Linked DNA regions of Homo sapiens: all the other regions are linked to region 2. The links are contacts of gene promoters, found by promoter capture Hi-C in blood cells and fetal thymus (Javierre and others, 2016). All regions are on one chromosome and are shown on one strand. Each heading gives the region's core, a stretch centred on a gene start or on the middle of the fragment in contact. The rest is flanking DNA. Distances are from core to core; before and after follow the strand shown. Region 1 overlaps HNRNPUL2 (heterogeneous nuclear ribonucleoprotein U like 2). Region 2 holds the start of SCGB1A1 (secretoglobin family 1A member 1). Region 3 holds the start of SLC3A2 (solute carrier family 3 member 2). Region 4 has its middle 4.8 kb from the start of SNHG1. Region 5 has its middle 8.7 kb from the start of CHRM1-AS1. Region 6 holds the start of TMEM179B (transmembrane protein 179B). Region 7 holds the start of ZBTB3 (zinc finger and BTB domain containing 3).

Region 1 (2,700 bases), core at 123-2,622, 300 kb before region 2:
GTGTCATTTCGATTAACAAGAAAGCGAATGCTTTATTCAGTGTTTTTTGTGGGGGGAAGAACTTAACCAAGCAAGTTAGGCTATTAGTAGAATTAATTTTCCCCCTGAATGTCTAGTTTGTCAGTTAAAACCCCAGTGTGCATTCACTGCTCTTTAAAAATGTGTGTGTATGTGTGTGTGTAACTGTTAAGTCAGCAGAATTTCCGAGTGCCTGCTATGTGCTAGGTACTGTAAATGCTGACAGTTCCCGCCCTTGAGGAGCTGATTACAGAGACTTTGTTTCTTTTGCATAAAATGATAGGTATGGGTTATACGATATCTGAAATCCCTTCCAGGGCTGAAAGTCTGATTCTATGAATGGCAGTTTTTCCTTATGTTTCTAACTCTGCCATGTATCCTTTTGCCATCTTAAATGTTTTGCAGGAATTGGGGAGCTTCAAAAACAAAGTGGCTTGGTTTTCTTGTGTCTCTGTTCCTCTGCCCTCCCCCCTCAGACTTTTTAAAAGTTCCTGGCTGGTGCTTTAATTAACATGTGTGAGCCTGGCCGAAGCAGGCCTCATATTCCCCCAGAATTGCCTTTGGCTCCAAGTTTTTGATTTCCACCCAGATGTGGAGCCAGGACCCCATGCCAGCTGTCTGAGCGCGCTCTCCATTTCTCTTCCAGTGGGCGGGCAGCGCCGAGGCTACGACAACCGGGCCTACGGGCAGCAGTACTGGGGGCAGCCTGGAAACAGAGGGGTGAGTGCAGCTCTCCTTCTGCTCCTCACTCTGGGCTGTGAGAGCCATTCTGTTGGCTTGGGGGAGCAGAGTGGTTTGCCTGTTTTCTTAGGGCTTAGGGTTTTGCCCATTTAATATGTTCTGGAAGATTTACTATGGGAAAATTAAACCAATTTATAATATCGAGCTAAGATGTGTCGCATTTAAAAGGGGGTCACGGTGGGTCATGCTGCCAAAAACCCATAAACCTTCACTCCTTTTTCTTTTCCTTTCTCAGGGTTACCGTAATTTCTATGATCGATACAGGGGAGACTATGATCGATTTTACGGGCGAGATTATGAGTACAACAGATACAGAGACTATTACAGACAATACAATCGGGATGTGAGTATCTTCTTGGGATAGACACAGGGTGAAGGGGGGCAGGAGCAGAAGGATGAGTGTTATGCCTCTTCATCCTCAGCCAGCTCTGGCTCCAAGTGATGGGGTTTCCCTCTCTTCTAGTGGCAGAGTTACTACTACCACCACCCCCAGGACAGAGACCGATACTACAGGAATTACTACGGGTACCAAGGGTATCGGTGAAGCCCCTGCCATGGTCACCTGTCAGCCATGAAGCTGAATCTCTGGGGGTGCCAGGCACCCCCGCAAAACACAACCAAGGAAAACAGGGGCTGTCGGGGTGGGGCTGAGCTGCCGGGGAGGGGTGGTGGGGGGGGAGGGTGCTCAAGCAGGGGTGGGGGAGGGGGGAGGTGGAAACAAACAACAAAACTGTACATTTTTTTTAAAGTTTGTTGAAAAGAATATTGTCTTATTCTATAAAACATTTCAAACCTAGTTAGAGATTTGTAATCAAAAAACATTTGCGCAGAAAGCAGCACTTAGGGCTGCCTGTTCTATACCCTACAGTCAGACAGGAAAAGAACTGAAAATGGCACCCTTCTGACATTCTGAGGCAGCTGGACTGGCAGCCAAGTAAAGGAGAGTGATGAGGTGGTGTGGGGAGGGTGGGGAGGCAGCGCGAGGGTGCTCTCCACAGCAGGTAGGAGCAGGCAGGAGTGGGGACAGAGGGAGAGCTTGTGACTGGGACAGTGAAAATAAACGATTGGCTCTTATCAATCACTTGCACCAACTAACCGTTTGTATTTTCTTTACCGACCTTTCCCTTTTGGGATATGTGGTCTGGTGGGCTGGGAGGCTTACAGTGTCCCAACTCTCCATTTTCCTGTGCCTTTGTGCTGTTTGGCTGAGGCATGGAGACTGCCAGTGGGTGGTTCTATTTTACAGGATTCCCAGGCCAAGAAAGCCTGGGGACTGTCCTTGATGGCAGAGCAGAATAGCCTGCCCCTTCTATAGACCCATTGATTAATTCCTGTAAAATCTTGGGGAGAATGGGATTGCAGCCCTCAGCCTAAAGATTGTGATTTGCCAGTCTCTAGTCTCTGTCTTCCAAGGTTGAGAGAGGTGGGAGGTCTCTGAAATCATCCCTGTTAGAGTGTCTGTCCTCTTACAGTGCGAGAGAAGGAACGTTTCTCAGGGTTTCAGCTCACACGAAAACACAGCAGGATTCTTTTCACTGCAGCGGGATATGTATATAGGTGAATCCTGTGGTGTGGGCTCACAGGCCCAGGTGCTGAGAATAGCAACTAGCAACTATTTTCTACAGTGTGGAGGGCTCGTGCCCTGCTGGTTTTTTTGATACACAGGTAGAGAATGAATAGAAGAGGGGAGGGTGGTGGGGGGGGGTGGGAGGCAGCTCAGTGGGGCTGCTGAACCTTGGGAAGAGTGTGAGTGTGAACGTGTGTAAATGTGCGTGTGAAAGGGAGCACCCCTTCCCGACTTCTAGAAACAAAATTCCTTTTGGGGCGCTTTCCCTGTGTGTCCCCAGAGAGGCCTCTAGCCAGGAGCCTTCAGTTGGGATAGTTTCATTTGTGACTTTACCAATACCCTCCCAGTTCTTGATAGACAGCTGTAGGTTGCTG
Region 2 (2,700 bases), core at 128-2,627:
CCCGGGAGGCGGAGGTTGCAGTGAGCTGAGATCGCGCCACTGCACTCCAGCCTGGCAACAGAGCGAGACTCTGTCTCAAAAAAAAAAAAAAAAAAGAATGAAAAGAGATATTATGTGAAAGGGTGACAGTGATTGGCACATTGTGTGAAGTAAGTGTTAAATATTGTATGCATGTGCACACAAATAGACAAATGCATCTCTGACCCACCCCTTAACATGTTGCAGTCCTATCTTGCTCAGCCACCCACCTCTGTACGCAGACAGCACTGAGATCTTCTAATTAATACACATTTCAGTCCAAAATGATGTCATTTTCTCTGAAAAACAAATAAACCTCTCTGCAAAATAGTTGTTCCTACTGCTTCTTGGTTTGGGTTTTCTAACTCCCCAGGGTCATAAAACTTATCTCCATGGGTGTTGTGAAGCTTTCCAAGTGAATTAATTGGAGTTTGTTTATTAAAAAATAACAACAGCATTTTCAGATGAGAATGGAAGAGGCTGACGCAGAGTGAAAAACAGAGTTAGATAACCCAGTTCCCCAAAGACGGGGGATCTTGGAGAGAGCTGTGATCCTTCTTTCCTTCCTTTCTCCCCCTCTCTCCGTCTCTCTTTCTGCCCCTCTTCCCCCCACAGTTCTTTTCCTTTTAGTGACAGCAGCAACTACTCAGAGACTCCTAATCCCTTTTGCAGAGGACGGAAATGTTTAGAAAACTTCACTCTGGGTTGGCAGTTCCCCAAAGGGAAGCTCTCTTTCTGGAATATTCCTCTGTGCCCAGAATGAGAGACCTTGTCTTGGGTTGGGTTTCTTTTGGGGTCACGAGTCCCTGCAGCTCCCCTTCCAGTGACTTCAGCTGCCAGCATGGAGTGGAGACCCCAGACTTGGAGGCTGCACCAAGGTCTCAGCATCTTGGAGTCTGTCCAGATCTGGGATGAGGGCCTCATTATTCCTATGCTGGATGTACTCATCTTTATGGGGTATTCTCCACTCCTCCCTCCAGGCTATTCCATTCCCTGGGATTCTGAGGGTTGTTGGATATAGAAGATGGGACCCTTTTTAGGCTTCCTTACAGCCTGGGGCTCTCTCCAAGTTTCCAAGATGAGCTTGCTCACCAGACCCAGTTTTCTGAGACTCAGCATGCCCAGGTCCTCCCAGCAGCTCCAGAGCAGGAATGGGCAGCTCACTCCTTCTTCTGAGCAGAACTGGGGGGTCCTGAGAGTTCCTAAGTCCAGGAGGGAGGGAAGGGTCTCTGAGCACTCACCGGAGCTGCAGCAGAGAGCCAGTGTGACCAGGGTGAGGGTGACAGCGAGTTTCATGGTGGAGGAGGGGGATGCTCTGGCCCGTCTCTGGTTCCGTCTCTGAGTCTGGTGGGCTAGTATGAGACATGCCCAGCAAGGTGCCTTTTATATGCTCTAGGCAGCAGCACCCAGATGGGGAAGGGCAGGGCAAGGGCTCTACATAAGATACTGCACTATTTACTTGGCATTGGCTTGGTGGGATAGGTAAATATTCCCTTTTCTCAACCCAGTTTCTGTCCCCACTGAAACTGAGCTCACACAATGGGCCACTTGGGGGTGGAGGGCCGAGCCCTGCCTGGAGGCAGTGAAGGGAACCCAAGTCAGAGGATGTGGAAACCCAGCTGCCTGTGTCACTCACTGAACCTGGGCACTGGGGCAGTCCAGATCAAGAGAAGCAATTGTGGAGCCCACCTGGAGAAACTGAGGCCCAAGTTCCCTCACAAGTGGCAGGGACAGGACTAGGACTAGGACTCAGGACCCTGACACTCCACTGGGCTCTTTCATAGGCTCCCCTCTGAGGAGGGCGACTGAACCTTAAGCCAGGAAAGACACATGGTTTGGAGCATTGCTGTGGTCAGACTTCGGGGGCCCCTGGATTGAAGCATGTTGAATAAAAGGGACCCTTCCAGAATTCCCATCAGAAACCTGAGCCCTGCCCCAGGCTGGGTCTGTTCCCACCCAGAAGTGCTCTCAAGTCCTGTGCTCCTGATGGCCCAATTGGTGGGACCTTCAGTCCTTATCTCACTTGACCTCCCAATGGCCTTGACACCTGTGACTGCTTCCTTCTCGAACCATTCTCTCTCTTGCGCTCCCACGCCTCAGTTCTTTCCTGTTTTCCTTCTTCTGGCCATTCCTTCTTGTTCTCTTTAGATGTTTATTCTTTACTGTTCTTAAGTGTTGATGGTTCCCAGGCTTTGGCCTTCTCCCCTTTCTTGCCTCCAGTTGCCATTTCCTGGTTCTTCTCCAAAGCCCGGGCCTCATAGCACCTAACCTGGCCTGGTCAAAATCCCCTGACTCGACCTCCCTGCCTCCCTGCTAGCTCTCCTCAGCCATCCTCTGAAAGGCCATCAGAATGATCTTCCTAAAACCCACTGGTCGTGTCCTTCTTCTTGAAACCCTTAAACTCTTCCTTTTGCCTAAAGAATAAAATTCAAGTGCAATTTACAAGGCCCTTGCCCACTGACCTTTGCCTACCATTTGAACTTCATTTCTCCTCTCCCCCACACAACGACTTAGCCCTCTCTTACTATTTGTGGATTCGAGAATGTTCCATGTTTTTTCATGCCTTTCTACCTATGCACAAGCTAAGCCTCATGCCTGAATACACATTTCCTGCCTTGTCCACTTCGCCAAATTCTATTCGTACTTCAAGACTCAATCAAATATTGATCCATTCATTCATCC
Region 3 (2,700 bases), core at 128-2,627, 460 kb before region 2:
GGCGACACGACGCAGCTTGCGGTCAGATGGTGGCTCAACCCCTACCTGGACCCTCGGACCCAGAACGCTCTCCCCGGCCTCTGTGCCTCCGCGCAGTTTCGGCTACTGCATCTGCTCAGCAGCAGGCGCGGCCTCTGGGAAGGGGCAGCGGAGCCCCGCCCCGGCCCGCCCCTTAAGGTGGAACCTCGGGGACTGCCCCAGCCGTGGGCGGCTCAGGGTAGTAAAGTCAGGAACACGCCTCCGACAGTACTTCCTGCATGGTCCAATTTCTCATCTCCAACCTGTCTAACCCTAAAGTTCTTTTCAACCTGATTCTGGGAAGGCCTGGCACGGAGCCACCTTTAAGTGGACTAGGCCTGTGATCCTGCCCCAAATCCCGAGGCCCCTCCAGTGTCCTTTAGGCCTTACCGCCCCCAAACGCCCCTCTTCTTCCATTCCGGCAGGCTAGTGACTACCCCAACACCATCCTCCATTTGCCCCTGGTTCACGGCTCCGGCCGCCGTCTGGTTTTCCCAACTTTGCATGGCTACTTGCACTCTCAGAGGCAGCCAGTCACAACTTCTGCCTTTTCCCCCACCAAGGCTTGCCCTCTCAGGCCTCTGGGACTTGGCGCTAGACCTCTGCTAGACCTCTGCTTCCGTGCACGGCTTACTCCCACTCGTTTTTCAAGACTCATCTTGAATTCATTTCAAGAAATTCCTCATGCAGCAACTATTTATTGTGTACTCACTACAATACTTTGCTTTGTTAACTTTATTGAATTTAACACTAATCCAGCCTTCTTCACAGTACTTTAAAATGAATGGTTTGGGCAGGAAGGTTGAGGTAGACACCCCCCTTCTTATCCTACCCCACCCCCAGCTGCTAGCACCTGGATGTTTGGCAGCTAGGAATCAGACATCCAGAAGAGACTGATAGGGCTGTAATGAACATAACAGAGCTAGGTCTCAGAGGCATCCACCTTTTTTGTGGAATAGACCAGAAGATGCCATGGCCAGACTCTTACCCACCTTGCAGGAACTCCCACAGTTATCCCCAAACTCCCCCAAGGTCCTGTCTCCCTATCACTTCACTATGTTAGGCCTTGGAGGCAGCTGGTACTGCAGAGGCTTTGAAGAAGCCTAGAATTCCCTCCACAGGGTCCTTGGATTGAAGTGGGGCAGAGACAGGGTTCACAGCAGGGAACTACCGGACATCAACACCGTGGGGTGCCAACACTCTCAGGAACTCCTTGTTCCTAAACAGTGCCAGTTGGGCTACTTTCAGAGAGGAGCTGGAGGAAATCGGTTCTTTCTCCCTTTCCCACCTAGGCTGGAAGCCAAGATTGCTGTGTATTTGGAAGAAAGCAAAAGCCAAGATCTGAAGTAATAGCATAGAGAAAAGGGTCACCCTCTGCTAGTCCCCTCTGCAACCCCAGGCATCCAACCCCATCCCCACCCTAGGAACAAGGGGTGCACGGGGCAGCCCCTGGGAGAAGGCAAGCAAGTGGGTTCAGACCAGTGCTCAAAGATAATAAGAGATCCAAGGTGCCCTGCATGTGCCAGATAAGAAGTGCCAACCAGAGGTTCTGAATGGACTATATCTCGAGCACAAAAGCTCAAGGCTGGGCGCAGTGTGACTCATGCCTGTCACCTAGCCCTTTAGGAGGCCAAGGAGGGAGGATTCCTTGAGGCCAGGAGTTTAAGACCAGACGGGGCAACATAGTGAGACTCCATTTCTAAATAAATAAAAAAATAAATTTTAAAATTATCTGGGCCTGGCTGGGTGTGGTGGCTCACACCTGTAATCCCACCTACTAATCCCTGTAATCCCACTTCTCATGCTGTGGCATGAGAATCGCTTGAACCCAGGAGGTAGAGGTTGCAGTGAGCCAAGAATGGGCCACTGCACTCCAGTCTGGGTGATAGAGCAAGACTCTGCCTCAAAAAAACTAACAGGCCAGGTGTGGTGGCTGACACCTGTAATCCCAGCACTTTGGGAGGCTGAGGGTGGCGGATAACTTGAGGTCAGGAGTTCGTGACCAGCCTGGCCAACATGGTGAAACCCCATCTCTACTAAAAATACAAAAATTAACTGGACATAGTAGCACACGCCTGTAGTCCCAGACTTGGAGGGGTGAGGCATGAGAATCGCTTGAACCCGAGAGGCAGAGGTTGCAGTGAGCCAAGATTGCGCGGCTGCACTCCAGCCTGGGTGACAGAGTGAGACTCTGTCTCAAAAAAGAAAAAAAAAGGCCAGGCGTGGTGTCTCACACCTGTAATACCAGCACTTTGGGAGGCCGAGGCAGGTGGATCAAGAGGTCAGGAGACCGAGACCATCCTGGCTAACACAGTGAAACCCCGTCTCTACTAAAAATGCAAAAAAAAAAAAAAAAAATCAGCCAGGCGTGGTGGCGGGTGCCTGTAGTCCCAGCTACTTAGGAGGCTGAGGCAGGAGAATGACGTGAACCTGGGAGGCGGAGCTTGCAGTGAGCCAAAATCGCGCCACTGCACTCCAGCCTGGGATACAGAGCAAGACTCCGTCTCAAAAAAAAAAAAAATTATCATCTGTAATTGGTGATGTGCCCCTGGAGTCCCATGAGATGCCAACACTCAAGGGAAGCAAAAGCAGGAGGATCACTTGAGTCCAGGAGTTTGTGAGGCTGCAGTGAGCCATGGTGGCACCACTGCATACCAGCCTAGGAGACAGAGCGAGACCCTG
Region 4 (2,854 bases), core at 17-2,516, 440 kb before region 2:
GTAATCCGCCTGCCTTGGCCTCCCAAAGTGCTGGGATTACAGGTAAGCCACCGCGCCTGGCCTAGCAGCACTTCTTAATGGCTGTATTGATCAATTTGGGCTATAGCTTAAAGACAATGGAGAGGCACTGAACTGATTGTGAGCTGAAGTGGGACCTGACCAGACTTTTTTTTTTTTTTTTTTTTTTTGAGAGAGGTTTTGCTCTTGTTGGCCAGGCTGGAGTGCAGTGGCACGATCTCAGCTCACCGCATCCTCCGCCTTTCTCAAGCGACTCTCCTGCCTCAGCCTCCTGAGTAGCTCGAATTACAGGCATATGCCACCACGCCTGGCTGATTTTGTATTTTTAGTAGAGATGGGGTTTCTCCATGTTGGTCAGGCTGGTCTCGAACTCCCAACCTCAAGTGATCCACACGCCTAGGCCTCCCAACGTGCTGGAATTACAGGCATGAGCCACTGTGCCCGACCGACCAGAGTTTTTATTCGTAAAGATCACTCTGACTACAGTGTGGAGAATGAACTAGAAGGGAAGAAGCCAGAGCCAGGAAGCCAGACTGAGTCTGTTACCTAGGGATTGCTTTGGGAGGCCAAGGCTGGAGAATCACTTGAGCCCAGGAGTTTGAGACCAGCCTGGGCAACACAGCAAGACCTCTGTCTATTCAAAAAGCAAAATAGATTAGCTGGGCACGGTGGCCCATGCCTGTAGTCCCAGCTCAGCCCAGAGGATTGCTTGTGTGCAGGAGTTTGAGGTTACAGTGACCAAGAGTGAAACCCTCTTTTTTTTTTGAGACAGGGCCTCTATTTGTTGCACAATTAAAGCTCACTGCAGCCTTGAACTCCTGGGCTCAAGCAATCCTCCCCACCTCAGCCTCCCCCAGAACTGGGACTATACACATGCACCACCACACGCAGCTAATTTTTATTTTTGTAGAGACGGGCTCCATATGTTGCCCAGGCTGGTCTCAAACTCCTGGGCTCAAGTAGTCTGCTTGCCTTGGCCTCCCAAAGTGCTGGGATTATGTGGGGGAAAGAAAGAGAGATCACACTGTTACTGTGTCTATGTGGAAAAAGGAAGACATAAGAAACTCCATTTTGATCTGTACTAAGAAAAATTATTCTGCCTTGAAACACCGTTAATCTGTAACCCTAGCCCCAACCCTGTGCTCGCAGAAACATGCACTGTATTGACTCAAGGTTTAATGGATTTAGGGCTGTGCAGGATGTGCTTTGTTAAAAATGTGTTTGCAGGCAGTATGCTTGGTAAAAGTCATCGCCATTCTCCAGTCTCGAGTACCCAGGGACACAGTGCACTGCGGAAGGCCGCAGGGACCTCTGCCCAAGAAAGCCTGGGTATCGTCCAAGGTTTCTCTCCACTGAGACAGCCTGAGATATGGCCTCATGGGAATGGAAAGACCTGACCGTCCCCCAGACACCCATAAAGGGTCTGTGCTGAGAAGGATTAGTGAAAGAGGAAGGCCTCTTTGCAGTTGAGATAAGAGGAAGGCATCTGTCTCCTGCTAGTCCCTGGGAATGGAATATCTCTGTATAAAACCCGATTGTACATTCTATTTACTGAGATAGGAGAAAACCGCCTTATGGCTGGAGGTTAGACATGCTGGCGGCAATACTGCTTTTTTTTTTTTTTTGAGACAGAGTCTCGCCTTGTCGCCCAGGTTTCACACCATTCTCCTGCCTCAGCCTCCCAAGTAGCTGGGACTACAGGCGCACGCCATCACACCCGGCTAATTTTTTTTTTGTATTTTTAGTAGAGACGGGGTTTCACCATGTTAACCAGGATGGTCTCGAACTCCTGACCTCGTGATCCACCCACCTCAGCCTCCCAAAGTGCTGGGATTACAGGCGTGAGCCACCGCGCCCGGCCAATACTGCTCTTTACTGCGCTGAGATGTTTGTGTAAAGTCAATCATAAATGTGGCCTACGTGCACATCAAGGCACAGCACCTTTCCTTAAACTTATTTATGACACAGAGTCCTTTGCTCACATGTTTTCCTGCTGACCCTCTCCCCACCATTACCCTATAGTCCTGCCACATCCCTCTGGCTGAGATGGTAGAGATAGTGATCAATAAATACTGAGGGAACTCAGAGACCAGTGCTGGTGCGGGTCCTCCGTATGCTGAGCGCCAGTCCCCGGGTCCACTTTTCTTCCTCTATACTTTGTCTCTGTGTCTTATTTCTTTTCTCAGTCTCTCGTCCCACCTGACGAGAAATACCCACAGGTGTGGAGGGGCTGGCCCCCTTCAGGATTACAGGCGTGAGCCGCTCCACCCAGCCTACTTTTTTTAAAATGCCCTCTTTTCTAGTAGATTCTATGTCACTCACAAGAGGTTGCAAACTCACAATCAAAGGCCACCTTTGGCCCACGGGCATATTTTGGTTTTTTGTTTGTTTTTGAGACTCACTCTTGTCCCCCAGGCTGGAGTGCAGTGGGGTGATCTTGGCTCACTGCAACTTCCACCTCCCGGGTTCAACCACTTCTCCTGCCTCAGCCTCCTAAGTAGCTAGGATTACAATCGCCTGCCACCGCACCCACACCACGCCCGGCTTATTTTTGAATTTTTAGTAGAGAAGGGTTTTCACCATGTTGGCCATGCTGGTCTCTAATGTGGGGAAAAGCAAGAGAGATCAGATTGTTACTGTGTCTGTGTAGAAAGAAATAGACATGGGAGACTCCATTTTGTTATGTACTAAGAAAAATTCTTCTGCCTTGAGATTCTGTGACCTTACCCCCAACCCCGTGCTCTCTGAAACATGTGCTGTGTCAAACTCAGGGTTCAATGGATTAAGGGCGGTGCGAGATGTGCTTTGTTAAACAGATGCTTGAAGGCAGCATGCT
Region 5 (2,700 bases), core at 148-2,647, 480 kb before region 2:
CTCATCAATAAAAGGGGGACAAATCATGCTAAGCCTGTCATATGTTAAACACTCAGAAAACACTGGTTTCCTTCCCCATCCCTGCAGTCTTCACTTTCCCTTTATTCCTCTCTGCCTCTGCCCAACCAAGTCTTGGCCAGCACACTTCAGACCCTGACCTCTCAGCATCTGTAAGCACTTGGCATATTGTCTGTGACACAGTAGGCAATAATTTTTTTTTTTTTTTGAGGCAAAGTCTCACTCTGTCGTCCAGGTTGGAGTGCAGTAGTGCCATTTCAGCTCACTGCAACCTACACCTCCTGGGTGCAATCAATTCTCCAGCCTCAGCCTTCTGAGTAGCTGGGATTACAGGCGCGCACCACCACGCCCAGCTAATTTTTGTATTTTTAGTAGAGACAGGGTTTTGCCATGTTGGCAAGGCTGGTCTCGAACTCCTGATCTCAAGTGATCCACCCACCTTGGCCTCCTGAAGTGCCGGGATTATAGCCATGAGCCACAGCGCCCGGTCAATAAATGATTACTAAATGACATTTTTGCTGCCTTGGACACCTGAGAACCAGACAGGAAGTCTATCTGCTTCTCTGACTCTATTAGCATTCTTCTTTTTTTTTTTTTTTTTTTGAGAAAGAGTCTCACTCTGTCACCCAGGCTGGAGTGCAGTGCAGTGGCATGATTTCGGCTCACTGCAAGCTCCGCCTCCCGGGTTCATGCCATTCTCCTGCCTCAGCCTCCCGAGTAGCTGGGACTACAGGTGCCCGCCACCACGCCCAGCTAATTTTTTGGTATTTTTAGTAGAGACGGGGTTTCACCGTGTTAGCCAGGATGGTCTCGATCTCGTGACCTTGTGATCCACCTGCCTTGGCCTCCCAAAGTGCTGGGATTACAGGCATAAGCCACTGCACCTGGCCTAGCATTCTTATCCCTCTAACATACAGACAAACTCTGAGTCTTGAGACTCCCTCAAGATGGATGTTATTGGCCCTATCTCACGGAGAAGGAAACTGAGGTTAAGAGGTTCAAGCAGGGATAGAGCAAGGATTCCACCCCCAAATGATCTCAAAGCCCATGCTTTCCTCCTCTTTTTTTTTTTTTTAGACGGAGTTTTGCTCTTGTCGCCCATGCTGGAGTGCAGTGGTGCAGTCTCGGCTCCCAAGTTCAAGCAATTCTCCTGCTTCAGCTTCCCAAGTAGCTGGCACTACAGGCACGCGCCACCACACCTGGCTAATTTTTGTATTTTTAGTAGAGACGGGGTTTCACCATATTGGCCAGGCTGGTCTCAAACTCCTGACCTTGTGATCCTCCCACCTCGGCCTCCCAAAATCTCACTCCTGGGATTACAGGCATAAGTCACTGCGCCCAGCCTCCTCCTCTTAAATCTGGCCACCATCCTGGCTGGGTGACCCATTCAACTCAATAGTGCCAGTGTCATGATGTCTTCAGCCCCAAGGACCTTACCCTCTACCCTGTGTCAGCCAAATCCAGAGCCCTCAACTGCTCCCGCTTCAAGAGCTAAAACCCCAATGTCTTCCACTCTCACTCTCCCACCCCCTCAGCCTCTCATCTTCCTCCAGGCCCTGTCCTTGCCCATCCTCAGCAAGTGCTTTCTTTCCCTGAGCAGCCTGGACCCTGCAGTCTTTCCTCAGCACCACCAATACTCATGATCCCCCGACCCCTTGCTTCTACCACAAATTCACCACCCTGGGTCAATGCTACCATCCATCTTCTCTGACCCGACACATGGGCAGTCAGGCACTGCTGGAAAAAGCTCCCACTCTCTGGCAGATTGGCACCAGAACAAATGTAGGGTTCCTGACCTCTGCTCAGGAGCCTCATGGCTCCACCTCACATCTTTGTGCTTGTCCTTAGTCAACTCACTTGCCTTATTCCCAAAAGTGCTTGTTCTCAACTTCCACCTCTCTTCATGGCCGCTACCTCTGACTTGCTGCCTGCATGATTTTTTTTTTAAGAGTTGGGGGGCCGGGTGTGGTGGCTCACACCTGTAACTGCAACACTTTGGGAGGCCAAGGCACGTGGATAACCTGAGGTCAGGAGTTCAAGATCAGCCTGGCTAACATGGTGAAAACCCGTCTCTACTAAAAATACAAAAATTAGCCAGCCATGGTGGCGGGCAGCTGTAGTCCCAGGTACTCGGGAGGCTGAGGCAGGAGAATTGTTTGAACCCAGGAGGCAGAGGGTGCAGTGAGCCGAGATGGCACCATTGCACTCCAGCCTGGGTGACAGAGCAAGACTCCGTCTCAAAAAAAAAAAAAAAAAAAGAGAGAGAGAGAAAAGAGCTGGGGGGTCTCACTCTGTCACCCAGGCTGGAGTGGCTCACTGCGACCTCACATTACTGGGCTCAAGGGATCCTCCCACCTCAGCCTCCCAAGTAGATAGGACTACAGGAGCACACCACCACACCCAGCTAATTTTTTTTATTTTGTAGAGACAAAGAGTGTCACTGTGTTGCCCAAGCTCGTCTCAAGCTCCTGGGCTCAAACAATCCTCCTACCTCAGCCTCCCAAAATGCTGGGATTATAGGCGTGAGCCACCACCCCTGGTCTCCATGTTGATTTAAATGAGACAATATTCTCAAATTCTTTGTTTGATTAAGAAATCTTGCAGTCACTGGGTTTATTCTACTTCATGCGCGTGGGAGAAGAGGAATGTGTCAATGCTCCCCCTCTGGCTTAACAAAGAAAA
Region 6 (2,844 bases), core at 99-2,598, 370 kb before region 2:
CTTAGAGTAAACCCAGGCCTTGTATATCCTTCAACAAATAACTATCTGTGAGGTGCTTTTTTTTTTTTTTTTTGCTGGAGTGCAGTGGCGCCATCTCGGCTCACTGCACGCTCTGCCTTCTGGGTTCATGCCATTCTCCTGCCTCAGCCTCCTGAGTAGCTGGGACTACAGGCACCCGCCACCATGCCTGGCTAATTGTTTGTATTTTTAGTAGAGACAGGGTTTCACCGTGTTGGCCAGGATGGTCTTGATCTCCTGACCTCGTGATCCGCCTGCCACGGCCTCCCAAAGTGCTGGGATTACAGGCGTGAGCCACCAGGCCCGGCCAGTGTTTTTGTTTTTGTTTTTGCGATGGAGATTCGCTCGTCACCCAGGCTGGAGTGCAATGGCACGATCTCGACTCACTGCAACCTCCGCCTCCCAGGTTCAAGCGATTCTCCTGCCTCAGCCTCCGAAGTAGCTGGGATTACAGGCATGAGCCACCACACCCGGCTAATTTTTGTATTTTTAGTAGAGACAGAGTTTTGCCATGTTGGCCAGGCTGGTCTCGAACTCCTGACCTCAAGTGATCCGCCTGCCTCAGCCTCCCAAAGTGCTGGGATTACAGGCGTGAGTCACCGCGCCCGGCGGATCTCTGAGGTTTTCTCATGGTGTAAAATAGGCACACTAGTGCCTACTTTATAGGCATTAAATGAACCCATGTTTATTAACCAGATTACCTGGCTGGGGTAAACGATGTAAATTATTGGCTTCTACCTTTACGTCAGCGTTTTCTCCATCTCTCATTTTGTCATTTAACACACTGTGCTACAATCATGTGGCAGCTTGATCATCTCCACTACACTATGCTTTATTTCTCGACAAAGCTCAGCACAAATGGCTTCTGATTTAACGGATGGACGCAGGTTCTGCACTGACTTCTGTTTCGGAACCACAGTAAGGCTGTGCAGCAGGAGCCACGAAACCCGACTCCACCTAGTGCTTTAAGACGCTACTGACCCGTCCCTTTGGCGAGGGGACAACTTCGAAGTATGACCTGGCCAGGAGGAGCCACAAAGCGCGATTAGCCTCGCTGCATTTCAGGTACAGGCCGGCGCCAGCCGTGCCTCACCAGGTCCACCGGCTCCGAGCAGCAGCAAGCCCGGTCGGAAAGCGAAAGTGGCCTCGCCATGTCCAGACCGGCCAGCTCCCCCGCCTACCTGACCCCGCCCCGCAGCCGCACCTGGGTCCGAGTCATCGCCGCGGCCGCCACGGCCCCGCACAGGAAGGCGGCAGCAAAGAGCGCAAGCTCGACGCGCTGCAGCCAGGACAGCGCCATGGCGCCCTGACCACCAGGAAGCGCCGCTGCAGCAGCACCCCGCCCAAAGCCCACCTTATCCGGCGCGACCCACGAAGGTGGAGACGTCATTTCCGGGGGCGGGATTTATTTACAAGGAACGAAGGGGCCACTGACTCAGAGCGGCAAGTACAGCGAGTAGTCCGAGAGCGCCCACCGGCGGGCGGGGCGGCTGGTACGGCCGATCATGGGCAGTTTCTGCACGTAGCGCGAGGCCGGGCTAGGCCCGTACGGCGCGGGGAAGGCAGTCTGGAAAAGGCGCCCGCGGCAGCGCCTCCCAGCCTGCCGCCCGGCTATGATGAAACGAAAGTGCGGGGCGCCGCGCGGGGCGAAACGGCTCTTCTGGAAAACGTCGCGGGTGCCGGTCCCGGGGCCCTGCTGCCGGGGTGCCCCGCGCGCCCGATGCACGCGCGGCAAGGGCCTGCTCTCAGAGGCGGCGGGCCCAGAGGCCGACGCGGGGCCGCCTCCGCCGCTGCCCCGGGGGCTCTCGTCGCCGTGCGGGCTGACTATGGCGCTTGCCGTCAGCTGCGGCATCTTCCGCACCGAGTCCGGGGCTGCCGCCGGCTCCTTCTTGTCCCCGGGCGGCCGCGGAGCCGTGGGTGCAGGCTGGCCGGTGCCAAAGCGTGTGGCCAAGCTGTCACCGAAGAAGGCGTAGAGCTCCCGGTAGATGTCGGCCAGGGTCACCGAAAGAGAAGGGTCCTCCGGCCCCGCGCCCCCTGGCGGCAGCGGGAGGCCGGACCCAAAGCTGGGTTCTGCACCGCCCCCGGAGGACGACTCTTGAAAGAGAAGGCTGTCCCATGGCAGGTCGTCCAGGCGCCGGCACCCCCTGCCACCTGGGCCACCCCTGTTGGGCTCTGCTGCCTGGGCCTTCATCTTCAGCAGTCGCTCTACCGCCACCTGTAAGAGCCAAGGACTAAGATAGGCAAAAAATTCGAGGAACCTGGGCCCATCAAATATTCCAAAGTAAGCCTGCTTGGCTGCTAAGCTCATGCAGGGAAGGGAGGCTGGAAGGGGACGGTACTCACCAGAATGGCTCCATAGACTTTGTGTCCATCTGCTTTGACCTGGGCATTAGATACTGAATAATCATCCAGCACAGCCTGCAAGTTTGTCCAGTAGGTGGACAGGTGTGGGTACAGGACTCGTTCTACTGCCTGGAAGGAAGAGAAGGAATACAGTTAGCATGTCTTTGATACTTATTCCCTCTCAAGGACCCTTTCCCATGAAAGACCTACCTTTATCTCTGATCCTAGACAGGGCTCAATCCTCCTAAATTCCCTGATTGGCATATTCAACCATATATTTATTTGGAACCTACTGTATACCTAAGCTAGGCATTGGGAATAAAGATAAGGTACAAAGGGAGACAATAAAAAATATACCCAATATCACTGCCCTGTGTGCTAAATAATGCTCATTACTGACAACTCCAAAATTTAGTTTGCATACTGCTACCCTATACAATCAGGCAAGTACTGGCTTCACTTAGATGTAAACTGAGACTCAGT
Region 7 (2,700 bases), core at 48-2,547, 340 kb before region 2:
TATGATCCTGACCCCATTCTTACCCTTCCTACCAGCACCTGCTCAGCACGCTCTGGAAACAAAGAACACTCTATCCTCTCACTGTAAATTGACTGTAGAGTCCAGGCTAGGGACACCACGACATCATCCCTGTAGCTGCTAGTTCTTTCATGCCATCACTGAGCCGGGAGCCCCGGAAACTTAGCTTGGAGGAGTGGAGCAGTAGGGCATCTTAAAATGTTTTTTTGTTTGTTTGTTTTAGATGGAGTTTTGCTCTGTCTCCCAGGCTGGAGTGCAGTGGCGCTATCTTGGCTCACTGCAACCTCTGCCTCCTGGGTTCAAGAGATTCTCCTGCCTCAGCCTCCCTAGAAGCTGGGATTTCAGGCACGCGCCACCATGCCCAGCTGATTTTTGTATTTTTAGTAGAGATGGGGTTTCACTATGTTGGCCAGGCTGCTCTTGAACTCCGGACCTCAAGTGATCTGCCCGTCTCAGCCTCCCAAACTGCTGGGATTAAAGGCGTGAGCCACCGAACCCGGCAAATCTTAGAATTTTTGAGAGGAAGGGACCTTCAAGAGACAAACGCAGTTCAGGGACGTGGGGCTATTGCCCACAGTCACCAGTTGGTTCTCTTTTTTTGGGGGGGTGGGGGGATAGGGTCTTACTCTGTCGCCCAGGCTGGAGTGCAGTGGCACGATCTTGACTCACTGCAACCTCCGCCTCCCGGGTTCAAGTGATTCTCCTGCTTCAGCCTCCCCAGTAGCTGGGATTACAGGCGCGCGCCCCCAAGACCTGCTAATTTTTGTATTTTTAGTAGAGACGGGGTTTCAGCATGTTGGCCAGGCTGGTATCGAACTCCTGACCCCAAGTGATCCGCCCTCCTCGGCCTCCCAGAGTCCTGGGATTACAGGCGTGAAGCACTGCGCCTGGCCTAGTTGGTTCTCTTTTTCCCTGTCAGCCTGTAGCGGGAGTGGCTTGCTGTCAGCTCGGGTCCGACACTGCAGGGTTCCCGACCTCCAGCCTCGCCAGGAGAGCGCCGCGTTCAGCGACTCGGAGCCGGGTACCTCCTGCCTGCTGGATTAGGTAGAAGGAGAAGCTCAGCCAATCCTGAGGGCTCGGAGGCAAGGAAGGCGGGACGAAGAGGAAAAGTTGAGGACAGGAGCGTCACCCAATCCAACGCCTGACTGCAAAAGCGATGGCGGCGAGCACCCAATTGTAGACGGCAGTTAGAGGGAGGATGGTTAGTGGAGAGCGGACCAATCCGTGACAGGGGAGGGCAATCTTAAGCCAATTAAAGCTGAGAAGGTGGGAAGGGGCGGAGCTCGCCCTGTGGCTGCTCGGTGGTGGGTGAGGTATCAGCTTTCTCCGCTAGTTCCCACCCTGGTAGTCCTTAGCCCCTGGAATGCGTGAGGGAGATGCTTAGGGAGTTCTCGAAGTGGGGCGTAGAGGCATCGCCTGGCAAGGCCTGGGAGCGAAAAAGATCTCTACTTCGTGGAGCCGTTGGACGCTACCGGGTGGGCATCAAGGAAGCGGAGGGTGGCTAAGGGGCGGGACTTCCGGGGGCAGGGCTTATCGGACGGGGGTGGGGCCTGTTCTAAGGTTAGGCCGAGGTGGGCGGAGCTAATGGGAGAGCTTTGGGTGTGACCTAGGAGAAAGAAGGGCAGTAACTTAAGCGATTGTTTTGGAGTGGCAAGTGATAGTTAAGGGCTGATAAGGTTGCTGGGGAGGTTACCTGTCTTAACTCACTGCCCTTTTTTCTCAGGGAGCCACTGGTGGGGACCTTTTTTGGGCCCCCTTTCCTTCGTGGGGTACTATGGAGTTCCCAGAACACAGTCAGCAGCTGCTGCAGAGCCTCCGGGAGCAGCGGTCCCAGGGTTTCCTTTGTGACTGCACCGTGATGGTGGGTAGTACCCAGTTCTTGGCCCATCGGGCTGTGCTGGCCTCCTGCAGCCCATTCTTCCAGCTTTTCTACAAGGAGCGGGAATTGGACAAGAGGGATCTGGTGTGTATTCACAATGAAATTGTCACAGCCCCAGCCTTTGGGCTGCTTCTGGACTTTATGTATGCTGGCCAGCTGACCCTGAGAGGGGATACCCCTGTGGAGGATGTGCTGGCAGCTGCCAGCTACTTGCACATGAATGACATCGTCAAGGTGTGTAAGCGGCGGCTTCAAGCCCGGGCCCTGGCAGAGGCAGACAGTACCAAGAAGGAGGAGGAAACCAACTCACAGCTTCCTAGTTTGGAGTTTTTGTCTAGTACTTCCCGTGGCACCCAACCTTCGTTGGCATCTGCTGAGACATCAGGCCACTGGGGCAAAGGGGAATGGAAAGGCTCTGCTGCTCCCTCACCTACTGTCCGTCCTCCAGATGAGCCACCAATGTCTAGTGGGGCTGACACTACACAGCCTGGCATGGAGGTTGACGCACCACATCTGCGGGCACCTCATCCACCAGTGGCTGATGTCTCTCTTGCCAGCCCTAGTAGCTCCACTGAGACCATTCCTACAAACTACTTCTCTTCTGGCATCTCAGCAGTTTCATTGGAGCCACTGCCATCTCTTGATGTGGGTCCTGAGAGTCTGAGGGTGGTGGAACCAAAGGATCCTGGAGGACCACTGCAAGGCTTCTATCCCCCAGCCTCAGCCCCAACGTCAGCCCCAGCCCCTGTCTCAGCTCCAGTTCCATCCCAGGCTCCAGCCCCAGCTGAAGCTGAGCTGGTCCA

Evidence for each region. The method cuts DNA at HindIII sites, captures the fragments that hold promoters and counts their contacts. A CHiCAGO score of 5 or more calls a contact.
Region 1: a contact is called between a fragment that was not itself captured here and the fragment with the promoter of SCGB1A1 in region 2, in 1 of 17 cell types (monocytes). The highest score is 5.1, in monocytes.
Region 3: a fragment that was not itself captured here is called in contact with the fragment with the promoter of SCGB1A1 in region 2 in 5 of 17 cell types (total CD4 T cells, total B cells, naive B cells and 2 more); the score reaches 7.4 in total CD4 T cells.
Region 4: a fragment that was not itself captured here is called in contact with the fragment with the promoter of SCGB1A1 in region 2 in 13 of 17 cell types (naive B cells, total B cells, naive CD8 T cells and 10 more); the score reaches 10.1 in naive B cells.
Region 5: a contact is called between a fragment that was not itself captured here and the fragment with the promoter of SCGB1A1 in region 2, in 2 of 17 cell types (naive B cells and naive CD8 T cells). The highest score is 6.0, in naive B cells.
Region 6: the fragment with the promoter of TMEM179B here is called in contact with the fragment with the promoter of SCGB1A1 in region 2 in 17 of 17 cell types (total B cells, erythroblasts, total CD8 T cells and 14 more); the score reaches 24.2 in total B cells.
Region 7: a contact is called between the fragment with the promoter of ZBTB3 here and the fragment with the promoter of SCGB1A1 in region 2, in 1 of 17 cell types (monocytes). The highest score is 6.0, in monocytes.

Annotation. Positions count from the first base shown.
Region 1 is chr11:62,713,902-62,716,601 of GRCh38, reverse strand. It overlaps HNRNPUL2 (heterogeneous nuclear ribonucleoprotein U like 2), which reads left to right. Exons shown (of 14, transcript NM_001079559.3): 12 at 665-738; 13 at 995-1,102; 14 at 1,223-2,700. The coding sequence ends at 1,303. It overlaps HNRNPUL2-BSCL2 (HNRNPUL2-BSCL2 readthrough (NMD candidate)), which reads left to right. Exons shown (of 24, transcript NR_037946.1): 12 at 665-738; 13 at 995-1,102. Among named protein-coding and RNA genes, the nearest start is that of GNG3, 7.6 kb to the right of the region's middle. RefSeq lists an enhancer at 678-1,179. The HindIII fragment of the contact is 3,689 bases long and covers 1-2,700 here.
Region 2 is chr11:62,417,710-62,420,409 of GRCh38, reverse strand. It overlaps SCGB1A1 (secretoglobin family 1A member 1), which reads right to left and starts at 1,377. Exons shown (of 3, transcript NM_003357.5): 1 at 1,260-1,377. The coding sequence starts at 1,314. The region is part of intron 1 of LOC102723765 (a long non-coding RNA gene); the gene reads left to right. RefSeq lists a silencer at 2,059-2,353. The HindIII fragment of the contact is 29,364 bases long and covers 428-2,700 here.
Region 3 is chr11:62,878,309-62,881,008 of GRCh38, reverse strand. SLC3A2 (solute carrier family 3 member 2) reads right to left here and starts at 113. Exons shown (of 9, transcript NM_001013251.3): 1 at 1-113. RefSeq lists enhancers at 1-91, 1-372, 742-791. The HindIII fragment of the contact is 6,323 bases long and covers 1-2,700 here.
Region 4 is chr11:62,859,245-62,862,098 of GRCh38, reverse strand. It overlaps a transcript of SLC3A2 not described here. Among named protein-coding and RNA genes, the nearest start is that of SNHG1, 4.8 kb to the right of the region's middle. RefSeq lists enhancers at 161-1,065, 2,234-2,854. The HindIII fragment of the contact is 5,884 bases long and covers 1-2,854 here.
Region 5 is chr11:62,899,348-62,902,047 of GRCh38, reverse strand. No RefSeq gene overlaps it. Among named protein-coding and RNA genes, the nearest start is that of CHRM1-AS1, 8.7 kb to the left of the region's middle. The HindIII fragment of the contact is 2,810 bases long and covers 1-2,700 here.
Region 6 is chr11:62,785,906-62,788,749 of GRCh38, reverse strand. It overlaps TMEM179B (transmembrane protein 179B), which reads right to left and starts at 1,348. Exons shown (of 5, transcript NM_199337.3): 1 at 1,223-1,348. The coding sequence starts at 1,318. TAF6L (TATA-box binding protein associated factor 6 like) reads right to left here. Exons shown (of 11, transcript NM_006473.4): 10 at 2,362-2,490; 11 at 1,408-2,233. The coding sequence ends at 1,454. It also overlaps a transcript of TMEM223 not described here. RefSeq lists a silencer at 1,718-1,827 and an enhancer at 2,078-2,277. The HindIII fragment of the contact is 7,473 bases long and covers 1-2,844 here.
Region 7 is chr11:62,752,757-62,755,456 of GRCh38, reverse strand. It overlaps ZBTB3 (zinc finger and BTB domain containing 3), which reads left to right and starts at 1,297. Exons shown (of 2, transcript NM_001370809.1): 1 at 1,297-1,493; 2 at 1,742-2,700. The coding sequence starts at 1,793. RefSeq lists enhancers at 9-886, 1,767-2,644. The HindIII fragment of the contact is 6,803 bases long and covers 1-2,700 here.